4 separate regions of the Homo sapiens genome follow, and regions 1, 3 and 4 are each linked to region 2. Evidence: promoter capture Hi-C in 16 types of primary human blood cells and fetal thymus (Javierre and others, 2016). All regions are on one chromosome and are shown on one strand. The core of a region is centred on a gene start or on the middle of the fragment in contact, and the rest is flanking DNA. Distances in the headings are between cores, read along the strand shown.

The links. The method cuts DNA at HindIII sites, captures the fragments that hold promoters and counts their contacts. A CHiCAGO score of 5 or more calls a contact.
Region 1: a contact is called between a fragment that was not itself captured here and the fragment with the promoter of FAAP100 in region 2, in 1 of 17 cell types (monocytes). The highest score is 5.9, in monocytes.
Region 3: a contact is called between a fragment that was not itself captured here and the fragment with the promoter of FAAP100 in region 2, in 1 of 17 cell types (fetal thymus). The highest score is 5.4, in fetal thymus.
Region 4: a contact is called between the fragment with the promoter of CEP131 here and the fragment with the promoter of FAAP100 in region 2, in 9 of 17 cell types (monocytes, activated CD4 T cells, naive CD8 T cells and 6 more). The highest score is 8.2, in monocytes.

What each region holds. Positions count from the first base shown.
Region 1 is chr17:81,265,726-81,268,982 of GRCh38, reverse strand. The region is part of intron 10 of SLC38A10 (solute carrier family 38 member 10); the gene reads left to right. Among named protein-coding and RNA genes, the nearest start is that of SLC38A10, 28 kb to the left of the region's middle. The HindIII fragment of the contact is 8,831 bases long and covers 1-3,257 here.
Region 2 is chr17:81,550,922-81,554,223 of GRCh38, reverse strand. FAAP100 (FA core complex associated protein 100) reads left to right here and starts at 1,871. Exons shown (of 9, transcript NM_025161.6): 1 at 1,871-2,058; 2 at 2,172-2,296; 3 at 3,021-3,302. The coding sequence starts at 1,894. LOC124904085 (a long non-coding RNA gene) reads right to left here and starts at 1,865. Exons shown (of 2, transcript XR_007065947.1): 1 at 1,718-1,865; 2 at 1-1,182. RefSeq lists enhancers at 240-815, 1,345-1,464 and silencers at 865-934, 945-1,024, 1,605-1,764, 1,905-2,144, 2,205-2,304. The HindIII fragment of the contact is 8,658 bases long and covers 1-3,302 here.
Region 3 is chr17:81,240,491-81,243,190 of GRCh38, reverse strand. NDUFAF8 (NADH:ubiquinone oxidoreductase complex assembly factor 8) reads right to left here. Exons shown (of 3, transcript NM_001086521.2): 3 at 1,881-2,204. The coding sequence ends at 2,175. Among named protein-coding and RNA genes, the nearest start is that of NDUFAF8, 2.5 kb to the right of the region's middle. RefSeq lists a silencer at 468-762. The HindIII fragment of the contact is 3,989 bases long and covers 1-2,700 here.
Region 4 is chr17:81,221,657-81,224,822 of GRCh38, reverse strand. CEP131 (centrosomal protein 131) reads left to right here and starts at 1,858. Exons shown (of 26, transcript NM_014984.4): 1 at 1,858-2,054. RefSeq lists silencers at 1,266-1,635, 1,796-2,125 and enhancers at 1,487-2,156, 2,157-2,826, 2,827-3,166. The HindIII fragment of the contact is 19,797 bases long and covers 1-3,166 here.

The DNA.
Region 1 (3,257 bases), core at 343-2,842, 280 kb after region 2:
CTTAGTTCTGCTTTGGGTTTGTATTTGCACAGGATAGCTTGTTTCATCCCTTTTCTTTTGATTTCTCTAGTCCATTATATTCATGGTATGTCTCTTATAACAGCATGCAGTTGACTTTTGTCTTGTTCTTATTCAGTCTGTGAATGGGAGTATTTAAGACTATTTACAGTTAATATAATAACTGATTTTTGAGGGAAAACTTTCAACTTATGTCCTATTATTTGTCTCATATGTCCTTTTTCTGTTTTTGCTTTTACTTTCTTTGGATCAATCAAACATTTTAAATATTTACTCTTTTTTTGGCTTGTTGGTACATTTCTATTCTTCTAATGATTATACTAGGCAGTTGATATCAACCCTTATTTAAAACTCCACAAGACATTGTTATTGTTGTTTCAAATAGTAATTATTGAGCCAGGCATGGTGGCTCACTCCTGTAATCCCAGCACTTTGGGAGGCTGAGGCAGGAGAATCACTTGAACCCGGGAGGTGGAGGTTGCAGTGAGCCGAGATAGCACCACTGCACTCCAGCCTGGGCAACAGAGCAAAAGACTCCGTCTCAAAAAAAAAAGAAAAAAAAGAAGAAGAAAAAGAAAAAAGTATTGATATTGATTCTTTGTGGCTTCTTGTTTTTTTGTCCTGGGGTCTTGTTTTCTAGTGTGCCTGGTATTTTGCAGATGTTGTGTTTGAGAAATCGTAGAAGTTCTGGGTGACATTGTCATTCATCCATCATACAGGGGATAGGCAGAAGGCCTGTGTCCCATTGAGGCAAATGTGTTTTCAGTTGGCCTTGTTCCTAGGGTACAGCCCTTCTGGGGTCTCAGCTGGGCAGTGACACCCTCAAATGGTGAATCTTCTGCTTGGCGTTCATCTTCTGCTTGGCGTTCATCATCTTGCTGGCTCCTCTCTGCATAGCTGATAGCTGGCAAGTGCTTTGGGGGAGATTTTTGCACACAGAATGTGGAGTGGCGTCCTTCTCCGAGGTTTCCTTCTCTCCCTCGAGCTCTGGCTGCTGGAGCGCCCTCATTCTTGCTTCTCGGTGCCCAGCCCTGTGAGTGTGCCCAGGCTCTAGGCTGTTGTGCTCTCTTGTCTTGTCTGCTTAGTCCCAATGATCGATGAGTCTCCAAGGGCAACAGGCTTGACCTCTCTGTGACTAAGGGCTTTTCTCTGTCCTCTGGGATCTGGACCTCTCAAGTCTGAGCTGACAGAGCTGTTTACCAGTGTCTTTGGTTGGGTGTTTTTATTGTTTTTATTCAGCTTTTACCATTGTTTTAAATAGGAAGACCAGTTTGATACCAGCTATTATGCCATAGCTTGATGAGGAAGTTTCTTGGTGAGTTTTAGGAGCTTAAGATAGCATGAGAGCCTCAGCCTCTGCTCATCAGATGGCACATGTCCTGCTATGCCAGGTCCCATGTTTTAGTCCATTGGGCTTCCTTAGAAAAAACATCTGTTCTGTGAGTTAGCAGGAGAAAGAAGGAAAGAAAGAAGGGAGGGAGGGAGGAAGGAAGGAAGGAAAGAAAGAGTCATAGTTAGAATTTCCACACTCCAGTACTATTTTAAAAGAAGAAGGAGGGGGAGGGCCATAGTTAGAATTTCCCCACTCCAGTATTATTTTAAAATAATTCCTCCCTCATTTTTTTAGTACTTTAATGACTTCATTTTTTTAATTTAAATCTTTGATCTACCTGTATTTTATTTTGGTGTAAGAAACAAAGTATGTATCCTCAGTTTATTTCTAGATGGTTCCCTAGTCGTCAGACATGATTTATTGAATAATCCATCACTGATGGGAAATGTTAGTGCTATTGTAGATTAAATTCTTATATGTATTCGGGCCTAACTTGGGACCTGTGTTTTACTTTATTGGCTGGTCTGCCCTTCCGTACTGTGTTAGTTGCATGTTAGTTGCATGTTAGTTGCGTGTTAGTTGCCACACCCTGGTAACACTCACGGAGTTGTGACTTGTTGCTCTTGGAACACTTTAATTCTCATCTCGCCTCTTGGCTGTTAATAATACATTTTCTGCATAGTCTTTGTTTTATTTTCTGTATGAATGTTGGAATCAGCCCATCTGACTCTAACAAAAAATTAGTCCTGCTTTTTATTTTTTGGTCTAACTGGGCTTATTGAAACTATAGATTAACTTGGGAATTGCCGTCTTTACACTGTAGCTGATGTGCAGATGTCCTTGCGAACTCTCCTGCTCAGCAGGAAGGCACTGCATTTGGTTTATCCAGACCTCACTGTAGGTCCTTCGTTCCCATCTGTTTCCCAGGTGGCTGTTGGCTGCACTGCATGCTATCCTGGGATCTCTTTTCCCGCTGGATTTTCTTTTTTTTTCTTTTTCTTTTTTTTTTTTTTGAGATGGAGTCTCACTCTGTCGCCCAGGCTGGAGTGCAGTGGCACGATCTCTGCTCACTGCAAGCCCCTCCTCCTGGGTTCACGCCATTCTCCTGCCTCAGTCTCTTGAATAGCTGGGACTACAGGTGCCTGCAACCATGCCCGGCTAATTTTTTGTATTTTTAGTAGAGACGGGGTTTCACTATGTTAGCCAGGATGGTCTCGATCTCCTGACCTCATGATCCGCCCGCCTCGGCCTCCCAAAGTGCTGGGATTACAGGCGTGAGCCACCGCGTCCGGCCCTCCCCCTGGATTTTCTAAGTGGCTGTTTGTGTAAAGGGAAGTTAGAGATTTCATAGGTGACATTTTCGCCCGTTCACCTTACTGTACTCCTGCTGGATCTCTTGGCTTTTCACCTGCAGCTAATGATGATGTCGCCTCCCTCTTTCCAATTGCTGCAGCGCTTCCTCCTCTCTTGCCCGTGTGTGGCGTCACACACCTGTGGCCACGGCGCTGCTGGTGTGAGTGGCTGGCGCGTCACTGACTCTGGGATGGCTTCTAGTGTTTACCCGTTAGCCCAGTGTCGGCTTTTGACTTGGTGTGTAGACATGTGTAGACACACACAGAATTGGGTGAAAGAAGCATCTCTCTGTGCCTGCTTTGCCATGTCTTTTGGAAGCTAGAAAGCGCACTGAATCACATTCACCGCAGTTTGGCTGTGCGTGGAGGAGACGGAGAGGTTTCTTTTTCCCTCTGACTTGGGTCTGGTGCGTCCTGTCCCCAGCGCTCCTACGGCTCCGCAGTAGGTCGTGGGGCCAGCGGACCACCGTGTGCCATCCGCTCAGCATGCCCTGTTTCCTTAGGTACGGAGATGTCAGCACCGCAAGGCCGTACCCTGGGCCTGTGGCGCCACA
Region 2 (3,302 bases), core at 622-3,121:
GGAGATGATAACACCTCCAAGTTGGGCATAGAAACGCAGTGTCCAGCGGTCTGCGCTGCTGTCTCGAAGGCTTCCGCTAGGAGTGTGTGCATCTTCCACACCCACGGACAGAGAGGCTGCCTCAGCCCTCATCACTCTTCGCCAAGTACAGGTGGGGCACGGCACAGCCCAGCAGCTGATGGAGAGCCGGCCTTCAGCCCTTCGCTTGTGTCTAACTCACCCCCTTTCCCCTGGGATCCATGCTTAAGGTCCCCCACATGACTACTGATCATAAATCTTGTTGCAGATAGGAGCTGGGCTTGGCGTGGGGCCAAAAGCCTGCCAGCCCCCGGAGCAGAGTGGGGTGGGCAGCGGAGTAAACCGCGGGGTGAGGCTGCTGGTTTGGCGGGCCTTCTCCCACGTCCGTTTCCTCCTCCACGTGATCGTGATCATTTCCTCTAGGACAGTCTTGGCATGTTACCATCCGTATGGAAGAGATGGCCTGGGAGGACTGGATGGGGTTGGTGTGTGTGAGCGAGTGACTCACAAGGCTTCAGAGGGTTAAAACTAGCAGTCAGAAGACCTGCGGATTCCTGTGGGGAAATTCGGTCAGAAGACCAGCGGAGGATCCCTGTGGGGAAATTCACAACGATGCGGCATCTGACTTCCTGACTCTGAAGGCCAAATGAGATGCACCTGGCCCTCCTCTCCCCACTCCCCAGCATCAAAGACAGCATTTCCAGCCCAAACACCTTCAGAGCAGCCCTGGCGAGAAGAGAGGAGCAAGGAACTGACTCCAGGTGCCGCACTTGAGTCTGTCTAACCCAACATTCAGAATCAGACATCCCCGTTGCCTTGGGGTCAGTCCCCACCCCAACCTCAAAGGGGGGCGGTCAGGATGTCTGCAAGTGGTGCTTTGTGCTCCAGCAGGTGCACCCGGACTCCACGATGTCTGCCTAACTTCCAAGCCCAGTTTTGCAGCCCTGCCCCTAGATTCTCCCTCGAGGGTGTCTGGCCTTAGCGCTCTTCAGATTGGCTTCTTAAACGGAGGGAGGCGGGCCGGGGGCGGGGTTCCTTGGTCATTTACTTGTGAATGGTGTGCCTGGTTTCCGCTCTCTTCCGGGCATGGAGCAGGTGTCCGTACTGCAGGCCCCTCCACGGGCGTTCTCTGGTCAGTACTTCTCTCCTGGAGGAAGTGGAGAGCTGCCAGGAGGGAGAGGGTGGAGGTATCTTGCCCTGGCTCACAGTCATTTTCTTGTCCTCTGCCCCCAACCCAGAAACCCCATTGGTGTACTCCCTGTCCCCACGTGTTCAGCCACGGAGGGAGGGACGCACTTCCACCTAAGCTGGCTCACTCCGCTGGGCCCTGAACGCGGGGGCGGCCGGGGCGGCTCGCAGAGCACAGGGCAGAGACCCATCCCTAGGACGACAAGAGCCGGCGCTGCCCCACCCCGACCCCGGCTGGAGTGCGCTCCGGCAGGACCCAGCTGCTCTCCGAGAGCCCAGAGAATCGAGGCGTTTACGCAAAAGCCCGAGTAGCTGAGCGCTTGCTCCGGGGAGACGCCCCGCCCAAGAGCAACCTCTGCTCGGCCAGGACCCGCTTCCCCACCCTGGGGAACCCGTGCAGCAGCCGGGGCCATGAAGCCGCCGAGGGCTCCCACCAGCCCGGCCGGGTCAACCTCGACCTGCGGCACGGTGCCGCGGCCCCTAGGAAGGCTCCCCTGCTCCCCGTGGGTACCAGCGACCGCCCCAGCTCCCGGAGTCCCTGCAGCGCGTCCTTTCCGGCCCGCCCCCGGCACCGCCGACCGCTTTACGGCGGAGGTCGCGCCGCACAGCGGGCTGCCGTAAAGCGCTCCGAGGCGGAGCCGCCGCCGCGCGGCCGGGGCTTCTCACTCTGACGGGCCCGCGCGCACGATGGCCGGCGCCGCGCCGCGGGTCCGCTACCTGGCGGGCTTCTGCTGCCCTCTCGGGGGCCTGGCGGCGGGCAAGCCCCGCGTGCTGTGCCATGAGGCAGAGGTCTTCCTGTCCACCGGGAGCGAGCTCGTCTACGTGTACGACCAGGAGGGCGGGCTGCTGACCGTGAGCGCCGGCCCGCGGGGGCGGGAGGGACCGGGCGGGGGCGGCGGTTCGCGTGAAAATGAAGACCGCGGGCCCGCGCGTCGCGTCGGCCTGACCCGCGCCCCGGTCCGCAGGCGGCGTTCCGGTTCCCCGACCAGGTGTGGCACCTGGAGCTGCTGGCGCCGCGCAGGTTGCTGTACGCGCTGTGCGCCCGGAGGGGCCTCTACTGCCTGTCGCTGGACCACCCGGGCAGGAGCAGGTGAGGGCGGGCCCGCGGCCTCCCTCCCGCACACTCCTGCTGCCCCCGGACTGCTTCAGAGCGAGCAGCCCCACCTCATCGCGCTTGGGGACCCGGGCTGCCGCCAGCTCTGAAGCCTCGGCCGCCATCCCTGCCCGATTATCTGGAGCCCCTGCCCCCAGCACTCTTTCTGCAAGTGTCTTGCTCACAGTCCTTAGTAAGTGGGGTTCACATGGTTAAGCCCACGGCGGGGCGCGGGATCCTGTCCTTTGGGCCCTGGTGGCCCGGTGCTGTCTGGTGAGACACGCCCCCGAGGTTGGGTCTTTATTGGAGGGAGGAGACAGCAAAGGCACCGTGACCCCGAGTCAGTGATCAGTGGACACCATCTGGGTTGGAAGGAAGCGAGCTCCGGGCAGCCAGGCCTGTCTTCAGTGCAGAGCCAGCAGCTGCTGACCGCGGCCCAGGCTGTAGAGGGGGCAGCCTGTGCACTTTGCAGCCTGGGCCTCAGCCTGACGGTTCTATGCTGACAGGTGTCGGTTCACGCTGGTTTTGGATGCCTGGTACTTCTTGTCAAGAGTATCCTTCGTGGGGAAGGTGGGAGGCCATGTGGCAGATGGACTGCTGAGCGGCCTTGGGGGTCACTGCGGGAACCCCTGAGCCAGACTACTCCATGCCAGGTTATTGTGAAGAGAACGTGGGAATCCCACCCTGCCCAGGCCTGACCAGTGCGTCCCTGTTCTCAAAGGTCTACGAGCCAGGATGACAGGGACAGCGAGGACGGTGACCAGCCTTCCCCCGTGATCCCTGTGGACCCCGATGCCTGCATCCTTCCCGATGCTGCGCTGTGCGCGTTCACCTTGCTGGACAGTGTGCTGGTCACCCTGGTGCAGGGCCCTGCCCGATGGAAGATGCAGCTGTTTGAGCAGCCCTGTCCTGGGGAGGACCCCCGGCCAGGAGGCCAGATCGGTGAGGTGGAGCTGTCCTCCTACACGCCCCCAGCCGGGGTCCCAGGAAAGCCTGCAGCCCC
Region 3 (2,700 bases), core at 1-2,500, 310 kb after region 2:
CCTCTGGGGGCTCAGTTCCAGAGCAGGGATAGCGCTGTCCCGTCGCCGGTGTGTACTTCTGCGCGGGAACAGACTTGCGCAGCACGCTGGCCCAGGGACGGATTGAGCGGAGCTGAGCCCTCAAAGAACTTTGGGTATCTCCTGAGAGCCAAGGCATTTGCTGTGGTTTGATGTGTCCCCTCCAAAATTCAGGAGTTGCCTAAGTGACAGTATCAAGAGGTGACTAGGCCGAGGGCTCCTTCCTCGCTCGTACGATTAAGAGCCTTATAAAAGAGGCTGCACCTCCGCCTTCTGCAGTGTGAGGACACGGCACAAAGGCCCTCCCCAGACACCAGTACCAATGCCTGGATCTCGGGCTTCGCAGCCTGCAGAGCTGTGAAAAATCAGGCCGTTCTTTGTAAATCACCCAGTCTCAGGTGCTTTGTTAGGGCAGCAGGGACGGCCCAAGGGCACCTGAAGCAGTTAGAGCTCCACACTGTCCCTGCGGTGCGAAAACAGCAGAACCCCCACAACCTCCCCTCCCCCTCCCCCCCGCCTCCCCCCCCCCCACCCGCCCAGCTTCCTGAGCTGTCAATCGATGTGGTGCTGAAATCCAGTCACTCAGGGAGGAAGGGCAGAGCAAAGGTGGGAGGTTTGCAAGGAAATTTGGGGTGGCAGAAAAGAGGGTGTACCCCGGAGGCCTGAGAGCTGAGTTTGGAGGTGTGGGCCACGCTGGGCCACAGGAAGTGGCAGGTCTGTCACCACCTCACACACAGGGTGAAGGACAGCGAGGGGGAGTGCTGGCAAGACAGGTCTGTGGGTGGGATGGGAGGCTGGATTTGGAGGGAGAAGATGCAGGAAGCTCTGCCAATGAGCTGCCAGAGAACGGAGAGGGCGTGACAGGGCTAAGAAAAGGACGTCTGCACACTGAGGCTCGCTCATGGATGAGTGCTGGGCACAAGAAGGAGGAAGGCAGGGGTGGGGGGCAGCCGGCCCTGCACGCTGGGGAGGCGGGTCGGGTGGTTTGTGCCAGCGCAGGGCATCTGAGTCTGGCATGCACAGGGATGGACTGCGGTGGCTTGACCCCAGGAGTCTGGTCTGGATTTCCGTGGTTCCCAAGATGTGACACTATCCTGGCCCTTGGGACAAAATCCAGCACTCTGGCCTGGCTCCTGCAGACCCACCACCCAGATCAGACCCTTAGGGGAAACCAGGTTAATTCTGGGGCAGCATCTGGAGGAGGAAACATGGAGGAACAGACCTCAGCCCACGGGGTCAGCCGCTAGCACGGGCCTGGGGGCAGGCGCAGGCTGCAGCCCCAGGAAAGTGCAGCCTCTGCACCCCGGAGCAGGGGGGCTCTCAAAGCAGTCCCCGCCACGCCCTGCAGGTGGCGCTCAGGCCCCATGGACTCCGGGGTCTCACCATCAACAAGTGCCCGGGCAGAGTCAGGATGTGGCCCTTCTCACCTTAGTTTTAGGTCAAGTGATGTGATAGGGAGGGGGAACGAGAGGGCAGGCGCCATCGGTGAAGTACCTGGGCTGCCGAGGGGGCGACCAACCCCACACAGGAGGGGCACTGGCTGCTGGTGCTCTACGCAGGCCCCTCTCGGAGACTCAGGCCCTTTTGTGAAGAGCCTCCGCCCTGCCCCGTGTCCAGGAAAGCCACCTGCGAGGACCCTGCCCCATGGAGTGTCCCCTCGTGGTGCTGACGTCCTTGTCTTTGGTGTGTGCTGTATACCCACAGCAAGGTCTGCAGGCTTCACCAGATTCACATTAAATACCTTAGTGAGAGTGTTTTAAAACGGGGACCTTGAGGCAGGGTGTCCCCAAGTCCCAGCCCTGCCAGCTTTGGGGGAAAGGCTCTGGGCCCCATTCCATCTCAGAGAGGCCAAGACCCACATGTTGCAGTCTGCACACAGTAAGCCCCAGGCTGCAGGATTTGACCGAGTCTTTATCGTGGCTTCCGTTACATCTTATTCTAACTCAGGTTTACGGACACAATGCTGGAAAACCAATTCCTGCTCTACCCACGCCTCAACTTGTTAAGAAAAAACAGGATCTAACACCGAGGAATGTCACATCTTCGCCATTCCCACTTCCTTTCTGCCCTAGGCATTCGATATGTGCCACCAGGGGCCATCAGGACTAGGGCTCTGCACCCATGGCAGCAGACAGGTGTGAAGCTCAGAGTCCCTCCTAACAGCCTCCCTCCAGCGTCTTCTTGGCCTGCAAGATAAAGTGTTTTGTCTGAATGGCTTGCTTCCAAGTTAGATACGCCTCAAAAGCAAGCTACCACACCACACGTTGTGTTCTACCAAATACCTTACAGAGAACTTGGGTGCTGGCATATGGTGGGGGCTCGACTGGTTGGAGCCTGGGGCCCCATGGGCAGGTTCTCTGGGTCACTTGTCCACGGGACAAGGGCCTCATGACACTATCACAGAACTCACTGCTGCCCCCTCCTCTGAGCCCCCACGAGATGCCACATTTGGTCTCAAGCTCTCATAGAGGGAAAGCAGGAGCCCCCCCCCTTTTTTTTTTTTTGAGATGCAGTCTCACTTTGTTGCCTAGGCTGGAGTACAGCAGCGTGATCTCGGCTCACTGCAACCTCCACCTCCCAGGTTCAAGTGATCTTCCCACCTCAGCCTCCCAAGTAACTGGGACTACACCACCATGCCTGGCTAATTTTTTTTTTCTTTTTTTTTGTAGAGACGGGGTCTCC
Region 4 (3,166 bases), core at 609-3,108, 330 kb after region 2:
GATCACCTGAAGTCAGCAGTTCAAGACCAGCCTGGCCAATATGACAAAACCCTGTCTCTACTAAAAATACAAAAATTAGCCTGGCATGGTGACATGTGCCTGTAATACCAGCTACTCGGGAGGCTGAGGCAGGAGAATTGCTTGAGCCCAGGAAGTGGAGTTTGCAGTGAGCCAAGATCATGCCATTGCACTCCAGCCTGGGCGACAGAGGGAGACTCCATCTCGGAAAAAAAAGGAAAAAAAAGAAAAAGAAAATAGCTTGGCGGTTTCCTTTTTTTTTTCTTTTTCTTTTTTTTGAGATGGAGTCTTGCTCTGTCGCTCAGGCTGGAGTGCAGTGGTGATCTCCGCTCACCGCAATCTCTGCCTCCTGGGGTCAAGCGATTCTCCTGACTCAGCCTCCTGAGTAGCTGGGATTATAGGCAGACGCCACCAGGCACGGGTAATTTTTTTGTATTTTTACTAGAGACGGGGTTTTGCCATGTTGGCCAGGGTGATCTCGAACTCCTGACCTCAGGTGATCCGCCCACCTCAGTGTCCCAAAGTTCTGGAATTACAGGTGGGACCCACTGCGCCCGGCCGGCAGTTTCTTATAAACAATCATTTGATCCAGCAACCCCACTCCTGGGTATTTACACAAGAGAAATGAAAAGTTGTGTCCACACAGAAGCCGATGAGTGAATGTTTATGGCAGCGTCATTCATAATTGCCAAGCACCAGGAACAATCTCTGCGTCCTTCATTTGATGAATAAAACCATCAATAAATAAAACCATCTGAACCGGTGGTTCACACCGGTTACAGGATACCACTCAGCAATAAAGAGGAACCAGCATGAATCTCAAAATGCGAAGTGGTAGAAGCCAGACCCACAGGCGCGCTGCGCGACATCCCTTTTGTGTGACATTCTGGAAAAGGCTGCCTCTAGGGATGGAGAACAGAGAGAACTGAGCAGCCGCCACCAGCAGTCAGCAGGTACGGGATCCGGAGGGAGAATGTTCTGTAACTAAAGTTACACAACTCCACTGCACACCAAAAAATGTGGATTTTACTGAAACCAAACTTTTTATTTTACAGAGCACTGGACTTTTTAAAAAGCGGGGGCAGGGGAGACCAGTGTGCTGTGACTTTTAGGGGAAGGATGGCTTCCCTGGAGAGGACCTGGGCGGAATCCCCAGGGCTCCCGGAGAGAGGGGGAGTCACAGAGCGGCTACGCACGGGGCGCAGCGTTAAAACTTTGGAGAAGGAAAAAAAACAACAAAGCAGCGCGAAGGGAAGGAGGTCAGGGAGGTTAGCAAGGCGCCCACACGCCCTCGCAGTCGTACTGAGTAACGAGGGGAGTCGCGCACGTGGGTGGGGACAGAGCGGCCTAGGACACTGGGGGAGCCCCGGGCCGCGGGAGTGCGGCGGCCTGGGGGTGTCGGGGAGCCGAGCCGAGGCCGCGTGCTCCTCGCGCCCTCCCTGGTGTCTCCTCCCCAGGCCCTGCGTGCCCCGCCCACACCTGCCTTGCCCCGCCCACATCTGCCTCGCCCTACTCGCCCATCACACCCCCACCTCACGCCCCGCCCACAACCGCTGGGGCCCCGCCCCTGCCCGGCCAGCTCCTCCCGCCGCCCTCGGTCCCCCGCCCCCTATATGACCCGCCCCTTTCCAGCCGCGTCCAATCGGCCGCTCTCTGTAGTCGCGTCCCTCAGCCATCCGCCGCTCCTCCCACGCTTGAACTTCCCGAAGGACAGCCGAGCGGCCCAATGAGCTCCCGGGACGGCCTGAGCGGGAGCGTGAAGGGCCAATCCGGAGTCGGCGCGCGCAGGAAAGGCGGGCCGGCGTGACGGGCTGGGGAGGTGGTGCCAGGCTGGTTGCTAGCTGCCGCCGCTGCTCACCCCGGCCGTCCGGCCGCTTCATTGTCACCGGGCCTCGGGGCAGTGTTGGGGGTGGCGGGGCGCCAGGTCGCCGACCCGAGGTTTGGGCGCGACTGGTTCCGCATCCCCTCCCCGCCGGCCGAATCTGCAGGCCCCGCGCGCCAGGCAGGCTTCGCGGCTGCGCCCCCGGCCCGCGCAGGTGAGGGGGGCCCGGGCAAGGGAGGGGGTTGCAGGGCGCACGGAGGTTGGAGGGGTCCGGAGCCCGCGCAGGTGGGAGGCCCTGGTCCAGTGATGAAGTGATGGGGATCCGGGGCACGCACAGGTGAGTGGGGGGATCTGGTGCCCGCGCAATTGAAGGCGGGATCCGGGGGAAGTGAGGGGGATCCAGGGTGCGCACAGGTGAGGGAGGTCCGGGGCCCGCGCAGGTGAAGACAGGCTCGTGCCTGAGGGTGTGGGTCCCCACCTCCATCCCCTCCACCCTCTCCACCTCCCTCCACTCCCCTCCGGTCCCCAGGACAACATGGAGTCCAGTCCCGGCATCTCTGGCCCGGCTGCCTTAAGCCCTGGGGAAAATGGGGAGATGGGAGCTGCCCTGAGGACAAGTGGAGGGCTCTGCTCTGCGCGTGGGCTCTGGCCTCTCTGTCCAGGGTCAGGGTCAGGGTCAGGGTCAGCCCACCCTGGGAACCAGGTCCTGGCGCTGGTCATCAGTCCCCGCCCCTTCAGGTCCTGGGAGGGACACAGTTTTATCCAAGATGTAGTGGCCTCCCAGGCCTCCCTTCTTCTGGCTTGGAGGTTTCCATGGAGAGGCCCCGTTCGCCATCCCAGAGCCGCTTGCAAGTGTGGCTGGGAGAGCAGAGTCCTGGGCTCCAAGGGCTTGCATGGGTCCAGCCAGGGGTGGACAGTGCCCTGCAGGAGGAGGGTGTTAAGTTTCTTCCGCACAGCCGGAAGTGCATAACTGAGGACTGGGACCTGGTCAGTGGCAGGGTCAGCCTCTAGGGAGTAGGGGTATCCATCGCTCCGTGGAAGGGACCTTGGGGGACCTGCTGTGGGGTGCCGGGCTGAAGGAAGCCCAGGGTGACCTTGGGCGATAGGCTGGGTGCCTGCTGGCCTACTGGAGGCCACCGTGGCAGGGAGGTAATTCTCGAGGTTGGTCCCTGGCGCCAGCTTCTCCCGTTCATCTACGGGTTCAGCTGAGTGCCTTTCCCTGCAGGTGCTGGGGTTGCTCAGGAGCCACACAATTCATAAACCAACTGTGTGCGGCCACAGGAAGGGAGTCCGAGCCGGATGGGGAGTGAAGAGTGATGGGTGCTC